Regions from separate parts of the Homo sapiens genome. Here regions 1 and 3 are each linked to region 2. The links are contacts of gene promoters, found by promoter capture Hi-C in blood cells and fetal thymus (Javierre and others, 2016). All regions are on one chromosome and are shown on one strand. Each heading gives the region's core, a stretch centred on a gene start or on the middle of the fragment in contact. The rest is flanking DNA. Distances are from core to core; before and after follow the strand shown. Region 1 has its middle 110 kb from the start of GPAT3. Region 2 holds the start of WDFY3-AS2 (WDFY3 antisense RNA 2). Region 3 overlaps MAPK10 (mitogen-activated protein kinase 10).

Region 1 (3,700 bases), core at 825-3,324, 1.3 Mb after region 2:
GAGTGATTATGACATTTAGGTATGATGAATGATAATCCTTTTTAAATCTATTAACTGGATTTTGATAAACATCTAAAATGACCGTAGTTCTTCCCTCTGCATTGAAAGGAGTGATGCAAGAGGAATAACCAGTGTGTTGGCAATTCTTACTTCTTGGTTGCCTCCAGACTAAACAAGGTCTTCGTATAGAGGAGCAGAGACCTTGCTACAGGAAGACCATGGAGGCAGGGAACAACCACTCCTCTCCTTGCACCACAGCTCTTGGACTGAGTTCTTTGGCTGTGATGGAAAAGAAGCAGTGTCTCTATAAGGCCTAAAAACCCCTGGCTAAAGGCTAATCTCAAAGGGAGGGCTCTGTCTTACTAAAATTTGTGGATTCCCAGTGCTTGGCAGACTGCCTGGTACACAGTAGACCCCCAGTAAGTGTTTATTAGATTCAATTGAAATATTAAGACAGCTCAGCAGTTTGTCAAGTTATAAATGCAGGAGTATGAGAATTACTTTGTGAGCTGTTTTTAAATATAGTAATTTGTGAGCATAATTGTATTTCATATGTGGTAATTCACAAAGTTAAGCCCAGCACTTCCCAGTTCATCTTAAAGCTATCTATTCAAGCAACTCTTGACTCTATAACAAAAACTATCCACTATCCATTATATCTGAATTTTTCTCAGCATATGTGCCCATCCAGAATAGTATTTCAAAACTGGAATTATCCAGGCCACACTGGAGCATATAATCAACTTGGAATTAGCCATTTTTTTCTTTTTTATTATTTCTTCCCCATATTGGCTGCAGTTGTATGAATTACAGATTTTATCTCCCTCAGACTTTTTTGCTTATGGAGTGGGGTGACTGATTTTGGTGCTTTCTCTTTTATTGCCTGTCTGACGTTAAAAATCCTATCAACCGTTCGGAAACTAATCTAATTCATTTCGAGAATAATGTTGTGAACTCTATTTACAGAATCCAAAGCCATAAAGCTTCTAATGCTACGTGAAACAGCACCCCCTACTGGCAATGTTGTCACATTACATCATCATATCCTCAGCACTGAAATCCATCTCTCTCCTGTTGAGAAACTTTGACAAGTAACTTCACAAACAGAACCTATTTAAAATACTTCAAATAGAACAAATCTCTTACTCTGTTTTACCTTCATGGAAACTATTCCTTGATAACAATTTTTGCTAAGAAAGGAAAATATGTGATCTCCCTTTTTCTAGGACCATAAAGTTGTAAAAGGCAAGTTTATTTCAAACTTAACATCAGGTGGGTCCAAACCATGCACTTCATGTCTCTGTGTTTCAGCAGTACAATTCTTTGTATAGCAAATGTACTTTCTTACAAAACACCAAAACTAGCTTTAAAAATAATTGCATATGATTTTTTCACTGTGACCATTTATTCATTCCCGACCACAGCATTCATTCAACAAGTAATTTTTTTTTTTTTTTGAGATGGAGTCTCACTCTGTTGCCCAGGCTGGAGTGCAGTGGTGTGATCTCAGCTCACTGCAACCTCTGCCTCCTGGCTTCAAGCGATTATCTTGCCTCAGCCTCCCAAGTAGATGGGATTACAGACACGTGCCACCACGCCCGACTAAAATATATATATATATATTTTGTATTTTTTGTGGAGACAGGGTTTCACCATGTTGGCCAGGCTGATCTTGAACTCCTGACCTCAAGTGATTTGCCTGCCTCTGCCTCCCAAATTGCTGGGGTTAGAGGCGTGAGCCTCTGCACCCGGCTACATTTAACAAATATTTACTGATCATCTAGGCTTGAGAATACCACAGTGAATAGCATGCATCTGGTCCCTGCCCACATAGAGCTTACAGCTGAGGTGACAGAATAAACCCATCCAATGCTGGATTTGACTAAGGAAACATCTGTGGAATCACAGAGCAAGGGTACTAGCATAGCCAACGGGAATTCAGAGAACCTTATCGCTGGCACTGTGAGTGCCCCAACCATTCCCCAGGACACACTGAAAGTTACTTGGCGCTTCAGTAGATTGTTCTCATCTTATTCTTGGTTTCCCGCATCAAACACCTGCATTTCTCTGGCCGAGGACTTCTGCTAGCGACAAAATGGGCAAGCTAAAAGTACCAGGGAATTAAGCAACCCTCAGCCAGTGAGGGACAGGAGTTGGTGGATAGACACCCTAGCTCCCTTGCCCTTCAATAGATAATTCTGAAGTGTATTCCACTCAGGCTCTTAGAAAGTCCCTGGCCAGGCACAGTGGCTCACACCTGTAATCCCAGCACTTTGGGAGGCCGAGGCGGGCGGATCATGAGGTCAGGAGTTTGAGACCAGTCTGGCCAACACAGTGAACCCTGTCTCTACTAAAAATACAAAAATTAGCAGGGTGTGGTGGTGTGTGCCTGTAATCCCAGCTACTCAAGAGGATGAGACAGGAGAATCACGTGAACCAGGAGGCAGAGGTTGCAGTGAGCTGAGATTGCGCCACTGCACTCCAGCCCAGGTGACAGTGCGAGATTCAGGACAGAAAGGAAGAAGAAAAGAAAAGAAAAGAAAAGAAAAGAGAGAGAAGGAAGGAAGGAAGGAAGGAAGGAAGGAAGGAAGGAAGGAAGGAAGGAAAGGGAAGGAAAGGAAGGAAAGGAAGGAAAGGAAAGGAAGGAAGTCCCCAGTAGAATGTGCACAATTCATTGTTAACAGGACTGCTGGGATTTCAACAGGCTTGGTAAATGACATTCATCTTTCTCACAAATGTTGTGAGGCAATTAAGAAATCCGACCAAAGAATAAGGCAGCTAGGAGAATAGATATCACATTGTTAATATTGAAAAATGAGGCTACGTCTCTAGGCAAGTAGATCACATTGCACTCAAGAATTAAACTGCTGGTCTTTTTAAATTTTTATTTATTTTTTTGAGACCTGGTTATAAGACTGGCTAATTTTTGTATTTTTCGTAGAGATGGAGTTTCACCATGTTGCCGAGGCTGGTCTCAAAATCCTGAGCTCAAGCAATCCATCTCCCTCAGCTTCCCAAAGTGCTTAGATTACAGGCGTGGGCCACCGCACCCAGCCACTGCTTATCTTTTGAATCCCAAGCACCACTGGACTGGGCAAGCCTCTGAAAAACAGGGCCTGCCTGGTGCATTTATGACAAGGATGATCAGAGTGGAATGCAAGCTTCCAGAAGACAGGCTCCTCCCAAGAGAAAAAGGGAAGAGGCTGAGCCATTTGGTCAGTTATTCCTTCCACATTCACCAGTCAGATAAGTGACGTATCTTCCAGAAAGGAGCAAGGAAGGGGCATAAAAACACCAAGGAAGGGACCTAGAGAAGACACTATGTCTGAGCCTAAGAGGAACACACATCATCCAGAAATCCTAGACTAGTGGAGCTCCCTCCACAAGAATAAAACCTCAACAGTGGGAAAAAGGGTCCCCACCACCACACACTCCATCCCATGTCAAAACTTTAAGAGAGTTTTGCTAGTCCAGTGATTCCCTCATACCACCATTCAACATAGTAAATAAAAACAACATCTTTTGTAATTTCCATACTGTCAACACTCTTTCTGAGTGACACTGGTCCCCAATTAAGACAGCAGTAATCAATTATATGAACAAACAATAATCAATTATATGAACAATAATCAAGTCTCTATAGCATTAATAAATGGATTTTAGCCATGTAGTGCCTACTTTTAAAAGGCACTTAAGAAAG
Region 2 (3,472 bases), core at 576-3,075:
ACAAACGGGCAAAATGATGATCACTTGGCAGTTCTAGGTTTACTAAAGGATACTTATTTGGTCTAAACACTGTTTGTGGGACTGCAAAGGTATAAATAATGCCCCTCCCAGGAAGGAAAAGGAAAATCTAAAATCTTAGGCAACCGACTCAAGGTCACTGACGGAAGGCACCATTTGAGACCGAGCTCCTCAACTACAGTCCCATCACGGACGGGAGCCACACAGGAGAGCGTGCAGGAGTTTCGAAGCTGCGTAGTACAATAGCTGGCGTGGGCAGTTCTTTTATACTCTGGCTAGAGTAAAATTAACGCACCTTTGCGTTTCTCCATCGCCTCTGACAGCATCCAGCTAAAGGGTGTAGGGTTAAGGAAAGCGGAACCCAGTTGTCCTTTCTCAGCTGAGTCCTTTCAGAAACTGGGACTGAGGAGGGTGAGCGCCGCGGAGAGGGGCAGGGGTGGGAGAGGAGAGAGGGGCGCGGGGCGGGGAAGAGGCGCGTCTGGAAGGCAGTGGGGAGAGGGACTGAGAGGAGTGGGGTTGAAGTCCAGCTGGGAGCATCCAGCGGCGCTGTCTGCAGACAGGGGCGAAGGCAGCCGCTGAGAGTGAGGCAAGAGCGGGAAGCCGAGGGAAGGGAAGGAAGTAAGGAAAGAGGAAGGAAAGGCAGGAGGGGGTAGAAGCTGAGCGGCTGCAATTTCTGCGGCCGGCTCAGTAGGAGGAGCAGGAGGGGAAAGAGGAGGATCCAGTCAGTCAGTCAGACAGCCAGCGGGAGGTGGAGAAAGCAGGAGGAGGAGGAGGATTAAAGATGGCCACCAACAGCTGCGGGAAACGGCAACAACCCCTCACTTTCCGGGATGGTCCCTGCGGGTCGGCCCGGCCTTGATGGAGAGAAGAAACCCGAGGAGCGCCGAGGCTGAGGCGGCGGCGGCGGGGACCCAGCGAGGACGAGGACGCGGCGGAGCAGGGACGGGGGCAGGAGAAGGGAAAGGCGGCGGCGTCGCTGCCCCTGCTGCCTAGCACCGCTGCCTGGCCCGGCGGACCGGTTCCCATACCTCGCGGCCGCAGAATCGAGCTCGGGCCCCGGCCCCCGGCCCGCGGCGCGGGGCTCCCGGGCCCCGCCGCGGACGTCGCGCCGGTCGCCCCTTCCCCGTAGCCCGTGCGCCCTCGGCGCGGAGCCCCGGCCCGCCGCGGTCCCGTCTCCTGGGCCTGTCCCGCCCGCGCCCTCCGCCGGCCCTCAGGTGAGTACCCCCGCCATCCTCCCCGCCCCCCGCGCTCCCGGAGAGGCGGTGCTGCCTCGGCCCGGCGCGCCTGGCCGCTTTGTTCGTGCGGGGCGGAGGCGCTGCCCACTCGCGGCCCTGCGCCCGCTCCCCCTAGGGACAGGCCGCGGCCCAGCTGCTGTCCTCCCCAGGGTCCGCCTTGGCCGGGAGCCGCCGCCGCCGCCAGGGTGGGCGGCCTGGCCCTAGTCCTCCGCTGCCTCCTGGGGAGGGCGCCGTCGCGGACGGGTCGGGGTCGGGGTCACGGGCGGCGAGCGGAGCGGAGCGGAACCGGGATATTTCGGGGGATAGGGGAGGAGAGGGCTGGACGTTACCTGTGGGAAGCAGTGGGGGCGTAGGCGGCCCTGGCTCGCAGGGGTAGGGGATCAGGCCCTGGCCCCCCCCCGCTGCATCCTGCGGGGTCTCAGCTCCCGGAGCCACCCGGACCTGAGCGCAGCCGAGCGCGGCCTCCATCCCTCGGGCGCTGTCTCCAGGGCTTCGGGCCTCTCCCCCTACGCCCTACGCTGGAAGCCCTTCGATTATGGAAGGAGCCAGAGATGCTCCAGTTCTCTTGTACTGGGGATGTGGTGGCATCGCAAACATTCACAGTTACGGCGGGATTTAAGAAGCAGATGAGACCTTTCCAACCAAAGGCCATCTGGCTAGTGTTTGAGCCTCAGGTGCAGTTTTTCATTGATTTTTACCATTTAATTGTGAGATCTGCAATATCAGGTCTTCCTTTCACAGAAACAATGTGATACAACCAGATTGAAAGGATATTTACTGCATATGTGAACCCTTGCATGGACTTCCAGTACCTTAAAAATGGTTAAGTGTTTTCTGTTGGAAAATGGTGCTCATGCATACGAAAAACTATTTTTGTTCAGTAATGGTTGCCAACTGGTTTACTATGTAGTTTGAACACCAAACAATTAAAAAGGAAAAACAAAACCCTATTCTTCGGGCTTTTTAAATAGTGGCATATTTCCAGGTTGGTATTTGGTAGCAGGTTGAGAACAACTGGTTTCGACTATCAGGCGACGTAACAAACATAACATAAAACAGAACTAAAAATGTGCTAATTTATAGAAAAACATGTTGTATTAGTGCATAAGTCTAGTAAAAAAATCCGACTTTAAAAAAAATAAAACTTTATCATGAGACTCTTAAGTATAGGAATTAGGTTGGTATGTTTTTATGTTTAAAAATATATATTGCATTAGAATTGAGAACTCTTCCTATGATATTTGAGCAATAGTAAAGTATGTTAATACTTTGAACCATTCTATCTCAAGCTGCTAGAAAGAGGTTTCTACTGCTAGTTTCTTTCCATGAGTTAAAATGGATTCATCTGAAATATATGTATGCTTTTGGTGGGTCACAGTGGGTCATGCCTGTCATTCCAGCACTTTGGGAGGCCAAGGCTGGGGGATCACTTGAGGCCAGGAGTTAGAGACCAGCCTGGGCAACAAAGAGAAAACAATTTTTGTAAAGAAAAAAAAAAATGTTTCAAAAAATTTGTATCACCTCCAAAAAGGAGGGATAAGTTAGAAAATACAATGTTCTACTCTTGCATAATCTGTTTTTGAAAAAGTAAATGACAGTATATTTCAATATTAGTTGGATTCTCTGCTTTGAAGAGATTCTTAAATTCCACTGCTCAACTTTGCAATTTTAAAAGTTTACATCAGTTGTTCTTAATTTATTTATTTATTTCTTTTTTTAGAGACAGGGTCTTGCCCTGTTGCCCAGGCTGGGGTGTAGTGGCACGATCACGGTTCACTGCAGCCTTGAACTTCTGGGCCCGAGTGATCCTTCTCCCACAGCCTCCCAAGAAGTTAGGACTACATGTGCATGCCACCATGCCTGTCTAATTTTTCTATTTTTTGTAGAGATGAGGGTCTCCCTGTGTTGCTCAGGCTGATCTTGAACTCCTGGCCTCAAGTGATCCTCCTGCCTTAGCCTCTCTAAGTGCTGGGATTACAGATGTGAGCCACCATGCCCTGCTTCTTTCTTAATTTCATGCATATACTTCTGAGGGTCCTTGGCTTCCCAGAAATCATATGCAGAATATAGCATATATTTGCTTTTTTCCTAGATAAAGACTCTGTTGGGTGATCACATTCTCAAAAGGATATGGGTCTGTAAAAGATTATGAACTTCTAGATATAAAATTAAAGAATACATATTCCATATTTGGAAAGCTAAAATTTTTAAATTACATT
Region 3 (3,680 bases), core at 438-2,937, 1.1 Mb before region 2:
ATTCTTTCCTTATTCACAATTCTGAAATCCCTAAGTAAAGGAGAAGTAACCAGGGAACGGAGCACAATTCCTCTGGAGAGGAGAAGACTTTAGATGTTAGAAGAGGTACTCAAGGACCTCCCCTAGTAAAGTGAAGTAAGCATCCCCCTAATAATTATTTAATTTCTTCAAGTATTTCATGATTTCTTGCCAAGACATCGCAAGTACTATACCAACCTGATAGTCTTGGCAGAAGCGTATTTCTCATTGGGGTTTCCACTGAATGTGCACTTCCTTCCTTTTATGTGTTGATGTCACTCTTTCGATTGTTGGTTGTAGGGCTACAGTCTTGTTGAGACAATGTTGGACCACATGTACGTAAGGGGAGTGAAAGGATTCAGCCATCTGTTTTCTTTTAGGTTGCTGTAAATCTACTCTTCTGCTGCCATAGGAAAGACCTCTTTCACTAGGAAAGAACTTTTCACTTTCCTCTCACTCACCTCTTTTTTATTTCTTCCTTTTTTATCTCTTCTTCACTTCTTACCCTTTTCTCTTTTTTATCCAACAGAGTTATTCACATAAGCTTTGACTATTTGTTAACAGTTTAGTATTTATTCACTTATTCTATAAATATTGACTGAACCCACACTTTGTGTTCCACACTGACCTAGATGATAGTGATTCAGCATTGAATTTTTAAACAAAAAATGAAAAAAAAACAGGTCCCTGCTTTTATTGTTCTTGGTAGGTTTCTAATAGTTAATAGCAATTTCTATTGAATGAGAATCTTTGATAACTTATCATCTCCTGAAGAAACAAAATAAACTCCTCCAAATATGAATTATCTACCTTACTTGATTATTTAACTTGTTTGGTGTATGGTTTCCTGACTGTAGAATCTGAAATCCTATGTCCCTTGAAATGTTAATCAGTTATAACTAAACTGCAGTGAGAATCTGCTAATCTTCAACCAGATGTGCATCAACTGCTTTGAATCATAATTAACAAGTTATGCTTATCCACTTTTAGCTATGATTTTTAAACTATTATTTGACTGAATATAAAATAATGTCCTGCTGGGCACAGTGGCTCACACCTGTAATCCCAGCACTTTGGGATGCCAAGGCGGGTGGATCACTTGATATCAGGAGTTTGGGCCTGGCCAACACGGCAAAACCCCATCTCTACTAAAAATACAAAAATTAGCCACCTGTAGTGCCAGGTACTGGGAAGGCTGAGGCAGGAGAATCGCTTGAACCCGGGAGACAGAAGTTGCAGTGAGCCGAGATCGCACCACTGCACTCCAGCCTGGGAGACAGAGTGAGACCGTCTTAAAAAAAATAAATAAAATAAAATAAAATAAAATAAAATAAATAAACAAAAAAGTCCTGACCAAGCTGACTAAGTTTGGTTACCCAAATGCATAGATTATTACTGAAAACCAAAGAATCCTAAAGTTGCTATACTAAACATAAAAGTATACAATCTTTAAACTATAAATTAAATCTTTCTATTTACTATAGCAACTAAATAAAAATATTTAATTTATATTTTAAAGATTCATGTATTAATTTATTGACCATCTGAAGCCTTTGAGCATAGTTCACATGACTGAGGATGATGGGAAGGAGTTATTCTCATTCCTTATTATCACTGACTTTTAATTCTCTCAAATACATTTTTACTGTAAAAGCTAATATCATTTGATTATGAATATCCTGTGTTACTTGCTCTATTAAATCTACTCCATGAATGAGTTCTTGTTTGCATTGTTTCTACCTTTATTAACTGTGGCTTAACCAGTTGTCTTTTACTGAATTCTCTTGAATCCATAATAAATTCCTGAAACAACATGGTGAAGAATAGACTTATAAATATATTTGATTATAACTAGAAGCAATGTACTTTGTTAGACTCAGTATATATGAATTTAGGAATGATAAGGAAAAATATGAGCTACAATGAATATGAATTTGATGCATCTAATGTTCAAATAGTTCATCAGTAGATATCTACTGTTTGGAGATAAACCATTGAATAAAATATGCATAAGTTTGCTTCAAATATTTTATAATCCTTTTATTAAATTGGTTAGTTTGAGTGTAGCACTGTGAGTTAAACCTGAAGTATCTGGAAGACATGATTTAAGTGAGTTATAAATGCAAACAGCTCTCTATACAGACTGTATCTCCCGTTGGGAGGAAAGGGGATTAAAGTCTTTGTGAGTCACATTTTCCTTTGATGAGTGATATCAAAAGGTTAGGGCATGTCCTCAAGACAATTTCTGAATAACTAATCCATCTGAAATTCTGAAACTACAGTTTTTGTTTCCTGATTTTCCCCACAGGGTACAGTAATGTACTTAAAATAGTTAATAGGCATTATTTTTGTTTGCTGTCATTTGATTTGTCTGAGAAGGAAGTCAGTTTGCAAGTGAAGTTTATTATATAAAATTTAATAGCAACTCTCAAGTGGCAGAAAATACCTATCAAATATTTAAATAAGCATAAACTGCAAAACTTGAGTTACTTAAGGATTTTTTTTGGTAGAAATTTGAAAATTTTTATTAAGAAGGAAAAACTTCATTTCACTAAAATAATAAGAAAGCTCTTTTAAAAAAACATTTCATGGGTAGAAAAAGCCTCTGTTGCTTTTTATTAATAGAAAAGATCTGCAGTGCCTATCACACTGAATATGACCTTGGATTTTACTGCTAGTTTATTTCTTGATGCTATATATGTGTGCACAGTTTTAGTAAGTTTCCCCATTTTTACTTGTTTAGATTTTTTTTGAAACATGCTTATTACTTTGGATTTCAACTTGGAAAGCTTATAAATGAAACATACTATTATACTTGATAAAGCACATCAATTGAGTTTTCTCAGGAAAGACCTATTTGGAGGTTTTTATAAAGGGCTTATTCTCAAAAAGATTTCTGAGGTCATTTCTAGCATTTTAGGAATATCAAACAAAAATTTTATCTAAGTTCCCCTAAATATTTTCACAAGTAAGACAAACTACTGTATCCTAGAATGAGGAAAAGAATAATTAACAATGTGAATAATTTCAAGTATCTGTAATGTTTAGCATGTTAGTGATTTTATTTCCATAATATGTTTTAGTATTTCTTGTATATTTTAAACTTGACAATTAGTCCAAGTATTTCCCAAGTGCCCATCACCAGTTTGGTCTATAATCTGTGTGCAGGTCACTGGTGACCTTTTGTTTCCTGGAAGTAGAAAAACAAAGAGGTAACTCAGTGATATTGTACTGTGAGACATCATGATTCTCTTTTCTCCATTCTAAAACTGCCATCATTTAAATTCTGTTTTTCGACCAGATGTCCTTATGAATTCTTTTAAATATGATTTGTTCTACTCACATGGAGTTAATAAACTGGCTGAATTCCTCCCTCAGCTGTTCTCTCCATCTGTCCTGCCACAAGGACTACCTCTTTGAGTCTTTGGATTTCTTATTATTGCCGCATGTGTCATGCTGTGAAAAAGCTAGTGTGACCCATGGCAGGCTTAATTTGAGAAATAGTTTAGTACCATCTATCTGTCATAGAAGACTCTTTCAGTGTGGAGTTGAACTCTAAGTAGGTTTGTTAGACTCAGAATATATATAAATTTAGAAATGAGGAGGAAGAAATATGAGCTACAATGGATATGAATCTGATGCACTCTAATTATGTGCTTAAT

Evidence for each region. Contacts are between HindIII fragments. The CHiCAGO score rates a contact against its expected background, and 5 or more counts as called.
Region 1: a contact is called between a fragment that was not itself captured here and the fragment with the promoter of WDFY3-AS2 in region 2, in 12 of 17 cell types (total B cells, total CD4 T cells, megakaryocytes and 9 more). The highest score is 19.9, in total B cells.
Region 3: a contact is called between a fragment that was not itself captured here and the fragment with the promoter of WDFY3-AS2 in region 2, in 1 of 17 cell types (naive B cells). The highest score is 6.9, in naive B cells.

The regions. Positions count from the first base shown.
Region 1 is chr4:83,642,184-83,645,883 of GRCh38, reverse strand. No RefSeq gene overlaps it. Among named protein-coding and RNA genes, the nearest start is that of GPAT3, 110 kb to the right of the region's middle. The HindIII fragment of the contact is 2,178 bases long and covers 986-3,163 here.
Region 2 is chr4:84,963,969-84,967,440 of GRCh38, reverse strand. WDFY3-AS2 (WDFY3 antisense RNA 2) reads right to left here and starts at 1,825. Exons shown (of 4, transcript NR_152775.1): 1 at 1,583-1,825. WDFY3 (WD repeat and FYVE domain containing 3) reads left to right here and starts at 751. Exons shown (of 68, transcript NM_014991.6): 1 at 751-1,232. The HindIII fragment of the contact is 8,814 bases long and covers 1-3,472 here.
Region 3 is chr4:86,054,616-86,058,295 of GRCh38, reverse strand. All of the region lies in intron 11 of MAPK10 (mitogen-activated protein kinase 10), which reads left to right. Among named protein-coding and RNA genes, the nearest start is that of MAPK10-AS1, 63 kb to the left of the region's middle. The HindIII fragment of the contact is 2,245 bases long and covers 565-2,809 here.